3 separate regions of the Homo sapiens genome follow, and all the other regions are linked to region 3. Evidence: promoter capture Hi-C in 16 types of primary human blood cells and fetal thymus (Javierre and others, 2016). All regions are on one chromosome and are shown on one strand. The core of a region is centred on a gene start or on the middle of the fragment in contact, and the rest is flanking DNA. Distances in the headings are between cores, read along the strand shown.

Region 1 (3,521 bases), core at 619-3,118, 360 kb after region 3:
TGGGAGCTGGAGAGTGCAAAGATCTCCCGGGTTTGCCAGATGCAGCTACTCTTTTTTTTTTTTTTTTTTAATACTTTAAGTTTTAGGGTACATGTGCACAACGTGCGGGTTTGTTACATATGTATACATATGCCATGTTAGTGTGCTGCACCCATTAACTCGTCATTTAGCATTAGGTATATCTCCTAATGCTATCCCTCCTCCCTCCCCCTACGCCACAACAGTCCCTGGTGTGTGATGTTCCCCTTCCTGTGTCCATGTGTTCTCATTATTCAATTCCCACCTACGAGTGAGAACATGCTGTGTTTGGTTTTTTGTCCTTGCGATAGCCAGATGCAGCTACTCTTAATGTGCATATTTTCATCCTAGAACATTGGAGAGTTCCTGTAAAGCCTTGTGTTCCAGGAGGAAGGAGATCCTGACCCTTCTGCTGATGGCAGCAGTCACGGGGGCTGGGAAAAGACCCTTAAATCCCTTCCACCTTTCAGGAGAATGTGGAGGGAAAAGGTGGCCTCAGCAGACCTGGGGGAGGCTGAGGGACACAGCAGTTGGGTGCACAGCCTTGGTGGGTGGCCAGAAATCAATAGAAAATGTACTCTTAGTCCCTCTCACCTCCCCACACGTCAAGTCCCGAGCACCCATTCCTTGCCCTCTTCCTAAAACCAGGCAGGGCTTCCAGGACGAGCCTCCACCGCGCTGGAGATGCCCCTCCGCCCCTCCTAGAGCTCCCGACGCATCTCTGGCTGCGCAGCGCCCTAGAATTTAGCTTCTGGCACCGCCAATCTCCTTAGCACCCATCCACCCCCTTGAAACTTTCCCATCCCAAGGCTTTCCCATTTCCTTCCCCACTCCTCTTCTCTCCCCACCCCCACCCACCCCGTAACTCCTAGATCTCGGCCTTGCCCGATTCATCCCTTCTCTCTACCCACTCCCTCTGCCTTCTACTCGGCCCCTCAGCTTTCCCACGCCCCCTAGGCATCTCCCGTGCACTCCGGACCCTTCCGGGACAGACTCGATCCGCTACGCACGGCCCGCTCTCCGCTAGCTGCGAGGCCTGGCTCTAGGCACCTCCCTGCTCTGAGCCTCAGTTTACCTCGGTGCTCAATAAGGGAATGGCCAAAGGGGTCCAACTTGGGGGACGTGCCCGAGCCACCGCCCGCCCGCGCCCAGCCGGGCCCCGCGCAGTCTCACCTGGTTGCCCGGCTCCGGCGGCTTGCAGGGCCCTGCAGGCGGCCGCCTGGACGGCCAGGCAGGAGGCCGGGAGGCCGGGGCAGTAGGCGGCCGCCTGCACGGGCCCCCCCGCCTGGCGGCCGAACACGGCGCGCAACAGCGCCTCCAGCAGCCGCAGCCCCGGCGCCACCGCGTCCTCTGGCCCGGCCTCGGCCACCAGCACCCCGACCAGCGCCGCCCCGGCCCGCCGCCGGCCGCGCACGTCCCGCAGCATCTCCCGCAGGCGGCGCCGCGGCTCCCGGGCGGCCAGCGACGACGCGCGGCACAGCACGAAGACCAGCGGCGAGCGGATGGCGCGCGCCGCCGCCGCCGCCGCCCCCGCCGCCCCAGCCGCCCTCGCCGCCCTCTGCGCCCCGCGCGCCGCCCCGGGCCCCGCGCCCTCTGCCGCCGCGCCGCCCGGCTTGGCCGCGCCTGGCTCCGGCGGGAACACCGCCCGTGCGAAGTCCCGCAGCAGCGCGCGGCTCTGTTCGCGCTCCCACAGCTCGCCCACCAGCAGCACCTGCCCGCGGCCCCCCGCCGCTTCCACCAACGCCTGGAAGGGCGGCTCGGCAGGGCGCGCAAGCCGGGCCGCCAGCGCCTCCAGCTCGCGCTCCATGCTGGCCGCCGCCCGCCCTCTGCGGCCGCCGCGGCCCGGGCGCACCCGCTGCCCGCCTCTCGGGGCGGTGGCGCCCCGGCACAGAGGACACGCCCCCGAGGGCCGAGCCCAGCCGGACCCCCGGGCCCCCGGGCGGGGCCTCTGTGTGCACGCGCCCCTGGGCGCAGCCCGCATCGCGGGCCCGGGTGGGAGGAAGAGGGCTTTCTCCTCAGCCCTCCAAGGGTGGCTCCTCCCGAAGTCCCTGCGCAGACGCGGGGAAACAGAGAGTCATTCATTCATTCATTTGTTCGTCCATCCCACACATACTTACTGCGCACCTACTATGTGCAGGCGCTGGGCAGCCGAGGTTGGGAAGACAGACAATTATCCCCTCACTAGATAAGATCGTTTGGAGACCTGGAGCAGAGTCCTGCACAGTTTGGGGTCTTGCCGAGGTGGGGTGGGAGGTAGGGGGGTAGGGGGCGGAGGGCGCAGAAGTGGGTAGGAAGGTGAGATAAAAGAGAACACGCAGGGGTTATTTCTGCCACCCAGCTTTCCTTTTGGGCTTCAACATTTAGCAAAAACTGACCGAGGGTCCATTATTTCCACAAATACTTATTGTACCACCCCAGGCGCTGGGGTTGAAACCCAGACTGTTTCCGTAAAGCAGAAAGTCTAGGGGGCCAGATGCAGGACACGGATGGTGCTCTGATCTGCGTGGGGAGCAAGGGGCCAGCCAGGTCAGAAGCAGGAATGCATTTCCCTTCCTTCTAAGGATCTAGGTCAGCCTTGTCCAATAGAACATTCTGTGATGATGGAAAACTTTTTTATTGTCTGCACCATATGTGACTATTATTGAGTACCTGAAATCTGGCGAGTGCAACTGAAGAACTGAGTATTACATTTCACGTAATTTGTAATGAAATGTAAAATTAAAGCAGAAAGTGACAAGATGATAATGTACTTAAAGGGCTGGCACCTTTCTCTGAATAGTACCCTAAAGACGCCGCAGAAGCAAGAGGGGAGTTGGTAAGGACTCTGAGAAACCAATGTAAAACCAGGGAAGGCCTGTCGCCTCCTCCCCTCAGTGCCATAGAAGGGGGATAGGCTGAGTGAACGCTATACACTTGTGCTCTTTTCTTTGCTTGCATTGGCCTGAGTAGACCATTTCTCAACCCCATCTCCCCAGCACTGCTGGGAGGCAGAAAACAGCTGTGCTAGCCAGGGATGGCATATCAGGCTGGGGCTAGCAGCACAGAAAAACCAGACCCGGCAGCCTCTTCTTCCCACTTCATGGGTCAGGAATTCCAACCACGAGACCTGCCTCATGAAAGAGGATTGGCCAGGGGAGAGTGCCCAGAAGCTCCCTGAGTGGGGTGTCTGGTGTGTGTGAGGGTGGCACATGGGGAGTGGCTACATTCACATTTGATGCCAGAGGCAAGTCCCATCACACCCCCATTCCTTAAGCTCCCAGGTGGGATATATAGGAAGAGCCTAGGTTTTAGTCTCTTCCAGGTGTACCTATCGCCAACCAAAGTAGCTGATATCTAGGGAAACATGAATTCACTGGGAAAAATAATTAGACTTCTGGGGCCGGGCGCTGTGGCTTGTGTCTGTAATCCCAGCACTTTGGGAGGCCAAGGCAGGTGGATCACCTGAGGTCGGGGATTGGAGGCCAGCCTGACCAACATGGAGAAACCCAGTCTCTACTAAAAAT
Region 2 (3,334 bases), core at 395-2,894, 400 kb after region 3:
CCATTTTCAGACAGAGCTAATTGTTGGGAAGTTTTTTATGTTGAGCCGAAGGCTTTCTGTCACTAATGTCTTCCATGGGTAAGATTGCTAATTTAGCAAATAAAAATATAGGATGCCCATGCAATACTGGGGACACACATACTAAAAATATTATTTGTTGTTTACTAAAATTAAAATTTAACTGAGAGTCTTGTATTTTGTCTGGCTATCCTATCCATGGGCCTGTATTTGTCTGTTTTCACACTGCTGATAAAGACATATCTGAGACTAGGCAATTTACAAAAGAAAGAGGTTTGTGGAACTTACAGTTCCACGTGGCTGGGGAGGCCTCACAATCATGGTGGAAGGTGAAAGGCACATCTCACATGGCGGCAGACAAGAGAAGAGAGTTTGTGCAGGGAAACTCCCTTTTTTAAAACCATTAGATCTCATGAAACTTATTCACTATCACGAGAACACCACGGAAAAGACCCTCCCCCGTGATTCAATCACTTCCCACTGGGTCCTTCCTACAACACCTGGGAATTCAAGAAGAGATTTGGGTGGGGACACAGCCAAACCACATCAGACCCTTAGATCTCTGAGGACAATAAGGAACAAGTCTATTCACATCTTCCACTTGACAGACAGACATCCTCCAATTCCTTCAATTGACTGTCATACACTAAATGGTCTCCCTGATCCTTCTCATCCTCCATCAACCCAGACTATCTTCCTTGGACTAGTTTGTCAGGCATCTTTTACAGCCCAAAAGGATAGCTTGATGAGGACAGAATAAAGCAGTATCATCACCTCCCTTATTCTAAACCATATACTTCTATAAATGCATCCTTGGTTTTTATTTTTTAGCAGTTGCATGGCACTGCTGATTCCTAGTGAGCAAGTATTACTATGGAACCAAGTTAAATGTTTATATGTATGTGTGGCTGTCTTCAGTGAGACTCAGGATGATGAGAAATGACAAAACCCAGGAATCCTGGTCTCTTGGGTAGAAACAAAAACAAAAACCTTCCCACTCTACAGCACAGCTCCAGGATACACGTTAACCATGCATCACTATCCTACAAGAACCAGCCTTTGGGATGACCCAGAACTCCATCAGCAGGAAGGCTGGAACTGCTGAAGCTAGAAGACAGCCCACCTGCTTTCCTGGATTGAGGGGCTGCCTTCACGTTAGCATCTGGAGATAAAAGGCAGCAAGAGGAGCGGCGGATTTCGGGTGCTGGAAGGGCTTGGAATGCTGGCTGCCGGGAGGTGGTTTCAAGGCTGGAATGCTGTGGTGTGGATTCAGGGCTAGGCTGCTGTGGTGTGGATTCAGGACTAGGCTGCTGTGGTGTGGATTCAGGGCTAGGCTGCTGAGAGGTGGAATTGGAGCTAGCATGCTGGGAGGTGGAGTCTCGGTGGCGTCTGGCCTCTGACCTTTTCTTCTTGACCTTCTTCATGGTAGATCCTCCCAACCTAAACGTGGACCTACATGGAGCTGCGTAATCTCCCGGCTCCCTCCTGGAGGGGCCGTTTGCCCTCTGCCCTAGGAGCCTGGCTTGGGCCTCCAGCTGGACCCAGGCCCCACAGAGAACAGTGACCCACACCTCCTGTGAGGTCATAAAAGCCAGGGTGGCTCCTATGGCAGGGCTTCAAGGGACAGTCTTCTCTGCAGACACCAGCCTGGTGTCCTCCTTCATCCCAGGCTGCCAGGCTAGGCAGGGGACAGCGGCTGCCCTGGTCCTCACAGCCCTGGCTACGGGGCTGGTGACAGCCAGATCCTCATGCTTCTGCGACCTGAGCGCTGCCTTCAGACACCTCTCTGCTGGCGTGTTCCTGGGTCCATGTGAGCTACCTGTTTTGCTCTAAGATACCCTGGATGTGACGCTCAGCTCTGTCACTGGCTTCCACATACCCCCTACTCCTACACCTCAAAAATCCATGTTCCCCACGCATTCATCTTCAGGTCAGCTTCCTGAAGATTTGGAGCTTCTTCGAAGGCTTTACCATGGCCCAGAGCCTGCTACCATCTCAGAGTAGCTTACCCCTTCCCCCAAAGCCTGCCCTCCCGCACTGTGGGAGGGGAGTTTGGGGGTTGACTTGACTTTTATAAGAACCTTTGCATTTGGCAGATAATTTTCCCTGAGAACATAACAGCTGTTCAGAAAACTAACATTTGTCTCAAACTCATGGCAATGGCAACCACAGACTATCTCCCAAACCCCAATTGGTTGGGTTAAACAGGTGACTGAATCTTTCTCTAGATTAATTAATTTAATGTGCTCATTAAATGTGATTTTTGTTTTAGGATGGAAGAAGGAAAAGTATTTTTAAAAGACAATCTGAAGCTCATACTGTGACTGCAACATAAAATGTGTTCACCTGAGGAGACTGCTTTCATCGCCAGTGTGTCACAGGTGGGTGAGTGTGGGACTGGCAAGCGCAGGAGCTCCTGCCCCAGCGGAAGGTTTAGAGCAGACCTATGCAGATAAAAAGGGCTTCGGTCACGCCTGTAATCCCAGCACTTTGGGAGGCTGAGGCGGGCAGATCACGAGGTCAGGAGATTGAGACCATCCTGGCTGACATGGTGAAACCCCGTCTCTACTAAAAATACAAAAAATTAGCCGGGCGTGGTGGTGGGTGCCTGTAGTCCCAGCTACTCGGCAGGAGAATGGCGTGAACCTTGGAGGTGGAGCTTTCAGTGAGCCGAGATCGTGCCACTGCACTCCAGCCTGGGCGACAGAGCGAGACTCTGTCTTAAAAAAAAATGGGGGGCTTTGGGCCACACAAAGCCAGACCCAACATGAACTCTGAAATGACAGGACATAGTTTAGGGCTTCTAGAGCCTAAAAATACCTTAATGATGACCTTTCCTCAGAACACTGAGGTTTAGCGAAATTAAGTTACTTTCCCAGGGTCACACAGCTGGCTGGGGGCATCGGAAGGACTAAATTCCAGTTTGGGGCTCATTATTTTCATGATCCCAGAAAACAATAGGGAGTCAGATAATTATACAGGCTTTGAAATAATGAATTAAAAAGTCCCCCAGTGGCCTGGTGCGGTGGCTCACGCCTATAATCCCAGCACTTTGGGAGGCTGAGGCGGGCAGATCATGAGGTCAAGAGATTGAGACCATCCTGGCCAACCAACATGGTGAAAACCTGTCTCTACTAAAAATACAAAAATTAGCTGGGCATGGTGGTGCACGCCTGTAGTCCCAGGTACTCAGGAGGCTGAGGCAGGAGAATCACTTGAACCTGTGAGGCGGAGGTTGTGGTGAGCCGAGATTGTGCCACTGCACTCCAGCCTGACGACAGAGTGAGACTCGTCTCAAAAAAAAAAAAAAGGTCCC
Region 3 (3,396 bases), core at 158-2,657:
TTCTCCAGTCTGTCTCACCCAACAAAGAGCAGCCCTCATGGTTGATGGAGGCCCAAGGATGCAGTGAGCACCTCTAGCATGGCACTGCCCCTCACCCCTACCTTAACATCCCCAGCTCATAACACCCCATTAGAAGACATGAGGCTACAGCTCTACTCCCTGGGAGGGGGCACATTTGCAGCTCCAGCCCTTGAGGGACCCTTCTTGCCCAGAGACCCCCCCACCCCAACCCCGGTCCACACCCATTTCGGAAGCAGAAATTAGAGCTCTCTGCCAGGAGTGCTGGTCGTCCCAAGCCCTGGGGCCTGAGCCCCTGTCCTGAAGGACCTCCTCTCTTCATCTCACCCTCCGGGGGCTGCCAGGACACCTGCCCCACCCTCCCCAGTGGAGACCTGGGGGCTGAGAGCTCTGGGGACAGCAGAGTGGCCTTCCAGGGCCAGCCTAGCAGAGAGATGGCGCTGACCTCCAAGGGGGAGGAGCAGGGTGCCAGGAGAGACAGGCAGCCCGTGGAGACGCCTGGGTTGCCCTGAGGGCTGGTCCGGTTGCAGGTCCAGGCCCCAGGGTGAATGCAGGCTGAGCCCCATAGAGCGACATTTTCCCCATAGGGTCCCCAGGTTGCTGGGGCATGTGGTTGGAGGAAGACAGGGGCACCTTAGGTGCAGGCTGGGGGGTGTGACCCAAGGTCCAGCTCTCCGGGGAGGAAACGGAGGGCTCCGGATCCGGCCCTGCCAGCCCTAGGGGTTCCAGGGAAGCCGCCCACCGAGGCCGGGACGGGGGAGGTCGGGGGGTGCACCGGGAAGGCGGCGAGGCCCTGGGCTGCGGGCGCTCCACCTGCCGGGTCCGCTCCATTCGTAGGGAAAGCCCGGGAGGGGCGGAGAGGGGCCGGGCGGGCGGCGGTCCGAGGTCCCGCGGAAGGAAGCCCCGAGAGGAGGAGAGTGGCCCGGACGCAGGGGGCCCTCAGGGGTCTGGAAGGGAGAGGGGACCCAGCTGCCGGCAAGACCTGGGGTCCCAGCCGCCAGGGTCCTGGAGCGGTGTCCAGGGCCGCGGGGCCGGGGAGCTGAGCGCGGCGCCCCGAGACCCCTCGACGTCCCCCACGGGTCCGGGGCCGCGTACCGCGAACATCTCCCGCCGCCGCCGCCGCGCCCGCCCGCCCATCCGCCCCCGGGAAACTGAGGCCGGCGCGGCGCGCGCGGGGGCATCTCCTATCCCGGGAGTCCCGGCGCCCGTCTGTGGCCACGGAGGAGGGGGAGCCCCGGGCCCACGCCCCCGCCCAGGCCCCCGACGGCCCCCAGCCCCACTCACCACAGCGACATGGCGGCCCGGGCCGGAGCGGCGGAGGGGCGAGCGGCTCGCAGCTCTGGGCGCCACGGCTCGGGCCGGCGGGACGGCGGGCGGGTGGGGACGGAGACCGGGCCGCGCCCCCGCCGCGACTTTCCTCTTCCCGGCCGCGGGAGGAGGGGCCGGCAGGGGCGGTGGCCCAGGTGCCTTAACCCCTTCGGCGCCCAGGGCCCGCCCCGCCGCCGCCTGGCGGGGACCACCCCATTTCTCCGAGACGGCCCCTAGGCTCCCCAAGCGCGCCTAGTAGACAGTGCATGGCCGAGGCGGGGCTTCGGAACCCACGGGGGTCACCTCCAATCCCGGGGACGCCTGTCCCTGGCGGAGCCTCCCGGGGCGGGGGGAGGGCGGTCGCCGGTCCCTCCTGTACTTGTGCGAAACCTGAACACCCGGTCCCCTCCAAGACCCTGGGGCACCCCAAGGCCCAGCCATTTCCCTCTGGCCCCATTCGGACTTGTCTTTGGGGCCAGAGGCAGACAGGGTGTCCTTTTCTCCCTCTGCTACCTTCTGCCCCTGCACCTTTCCCCTGACCAGACGGACCCCTTGCCCAGCTGTTGGGCTACCTAGGGCCAGGAGCAAAGCCAGCCACTAGGGAAAGAGGCCGTATGAGACTGGGCTCCATGTCAGGACTCGCCCAGGCCTGTGGCTCTGGAAGCTTTTTTTGTGCCCCCACCATGTCCCTCTCTTCACCTCTGGGGTTCCTCCCACCTCTGAGGGCTCCCCACCACCAAGGGAAGGCCTGTTGGCCCAGCCCTATCTCCTTTCTTTTTTCACTTATCACTCAAAACCCTTTTTGTCCTCAAGCCTTTATTAGTCTGCTTGTGCACATCAGGCCTAGCGGCTCTGGGGAGTGGGCTGACAGAGAACACGGAGAGGGCTTGGTCCAGCCAGGTGACTTCCAGAATCCTCCAGCAGGGAGAGCCATCGCTGGTCCTGTTGTTGCTCAGGTTGTTCTGGTCTTGTTCCGGGTTGAGGTTTCGGTGCTTAGCATCCAGCAGGACCTCCAAAAGGCCCACAGAATTGAAACGGAAGCACGTTGTGGTCCAATCATAACAGCTAACGTCCACTGAGCAGCTACAATATGCCAAACCTGGTTCTCGGCCCATGCATGACTGGCTCACTTAATCCTAGAGACATACGCTATTATTCCCACCTTACAGGGGAGGAAACGGGGGTGCAGAGGGGAACTCCCAGCCAGCTCAGAGAACAGCGAGCCCAGAGTTAGTAAGCACATCCAGGAGGCCTGCATGGCCTGAAGGCTGGCTCTGAACCCTTCCTGCCTGGTCTGAAGGCTGGCTCTGAGCCCTTCCTCAACCTTTTTTCCTTTCCCAGGGACAGCAGTGACATGGAGCTACTTTCCTGCCCAGCACACAGGGAGGCTAGGAGTCCTCAGCTGGATCTTAAGCCCTCGAGGCCAGGGTGAGGAGCCCCTTCTGCCCTATCCTTAAGGTTCAAGGGCCCTTTGGAGGGGGAGGAGAAACTTAAGGTACCATAGAATGTTCTGGAATGTTGTAAGTGCCAATTAGGGAATGTGAAGGGCCTTTCAGGCAGAATTTCAGAGGAGTATCTTGGGGCTGATGTCCTTTGTAATGGCCCTCCAAAAGTTCCAGAGCAGGGGAGGGGCTGACCTGCAGCCCAAAGCCCCTGTTGGCCTGGCTGCCTGCCACTGAGGGCCACCCGCAGATTCTGCAGCTCCACGGCTCCCTTCATCCCAGTGTAGCCTTGGCCACCGGTTCCCGCAGGGCACCAAGCATTTTGCTCCACTGCCCAGCCTTCCGAGTTCCCCACTTCACCCTGCAAGTGTGGCCCTGGCTTCCCTGGCTCCACACAGGTGCCCTGCTGAGAGCTGCCTCCCTGGCTTCAGCACTGACCTCTCACCCGGTGCTGTGGGGTCTCCTCCTCCTGCTGAGGGGTGGACACAGCCGTCCCTGGGAAGGGGGTTTTGAGCCCATGTTTGGGGATGGCAGGCATGGGCGTTGGGTCAGAGTCTTGCACTTCCTGGTTGTCACTGGGGGCAGGTGGCTTTTCCCCTTGAGACCTCAATTTCCTGCCAGCTCAGGG

The links. The method cuts DNA at HindIII sites, captures the fragments that hold promoters and counts their contacts. A CHiCAGO score of 5 or more calls a contact.
Region 1: the fragment with the promoter of C2orf72 here is called in contact with the fragment with the promoter of B3GNT7 in region 3 in 7 of 17 cell types (erythroblasts, M0 macrophages, neutrophils and 4 more); the score reaches 9.2 in erythroblasts.
Region 2: the fragment with the promoter of SPATA3-AS1 here is called in contact with the fragment with the promoter of B3GNT7 in region 3 in 3 of 17 cell types (fetal thymus, naive B cells and neutrophils); the score reaches 6.7 in fetal thymus.

What each region holds. Positions count from the first base shown.
Region 1 is chr2:231,035,870-231,039,390 of GRCh38, reverse strand. C2orf72 (chromosome 2 open reading frame 72) reads right to left here and starts at 1,868. Exons shown (of 3, transcript NM_001144994.2): 1 at 1,192-1,868. The coding sequence starts at 1,825. The HindIII fragment of the contact is 4,632 bases long and covers 1-3,521 here.
Region 2 is chr2:230,994,342-230,997,675 of GRCh38, reverse strand. SPATA3-AS1 (SPATA3 antisense RNA 1) reads left to right here and starts at 1,644. Exons shown (of 6, transcript NR_033879.1): 1 at 1,644-1,828; 2 at 2,291-2,399. SPATA3 (spermatogenesis associated 3) reads right to left here and starts at 1,555. Exons shown (of 5, transcript NM_139073.5): 1 at 1,142-1,555. The coding sequence starts at 1,442. RefSeq lists an enhancer at 1,511-2,044. The HindIII fragment of the contact is 18,304 bases long and covers 1-3,334 here.
Region 3 is chr2:231,393,721-231,397,116 of GRCh38, reverse strand. B3GNT7 (UDP-GlcNAc:betaGal beta-1,3-N-acetylglucosaminyltransferase 7) reads right to left here and starts at 1,407. Exons shown (of 2, transcript NM_145236.3): 1 at 1,303-1,407. The coding sequence starts at 1,313. RefSeq lists enhancers at 1-7, 2,276-2,325, 2,621-3,202, 3,203-3,396 and a silencer at 1,256-1,725. The HindIII fragment of the contact is 8,411 bases long and covers 1-1,992 here.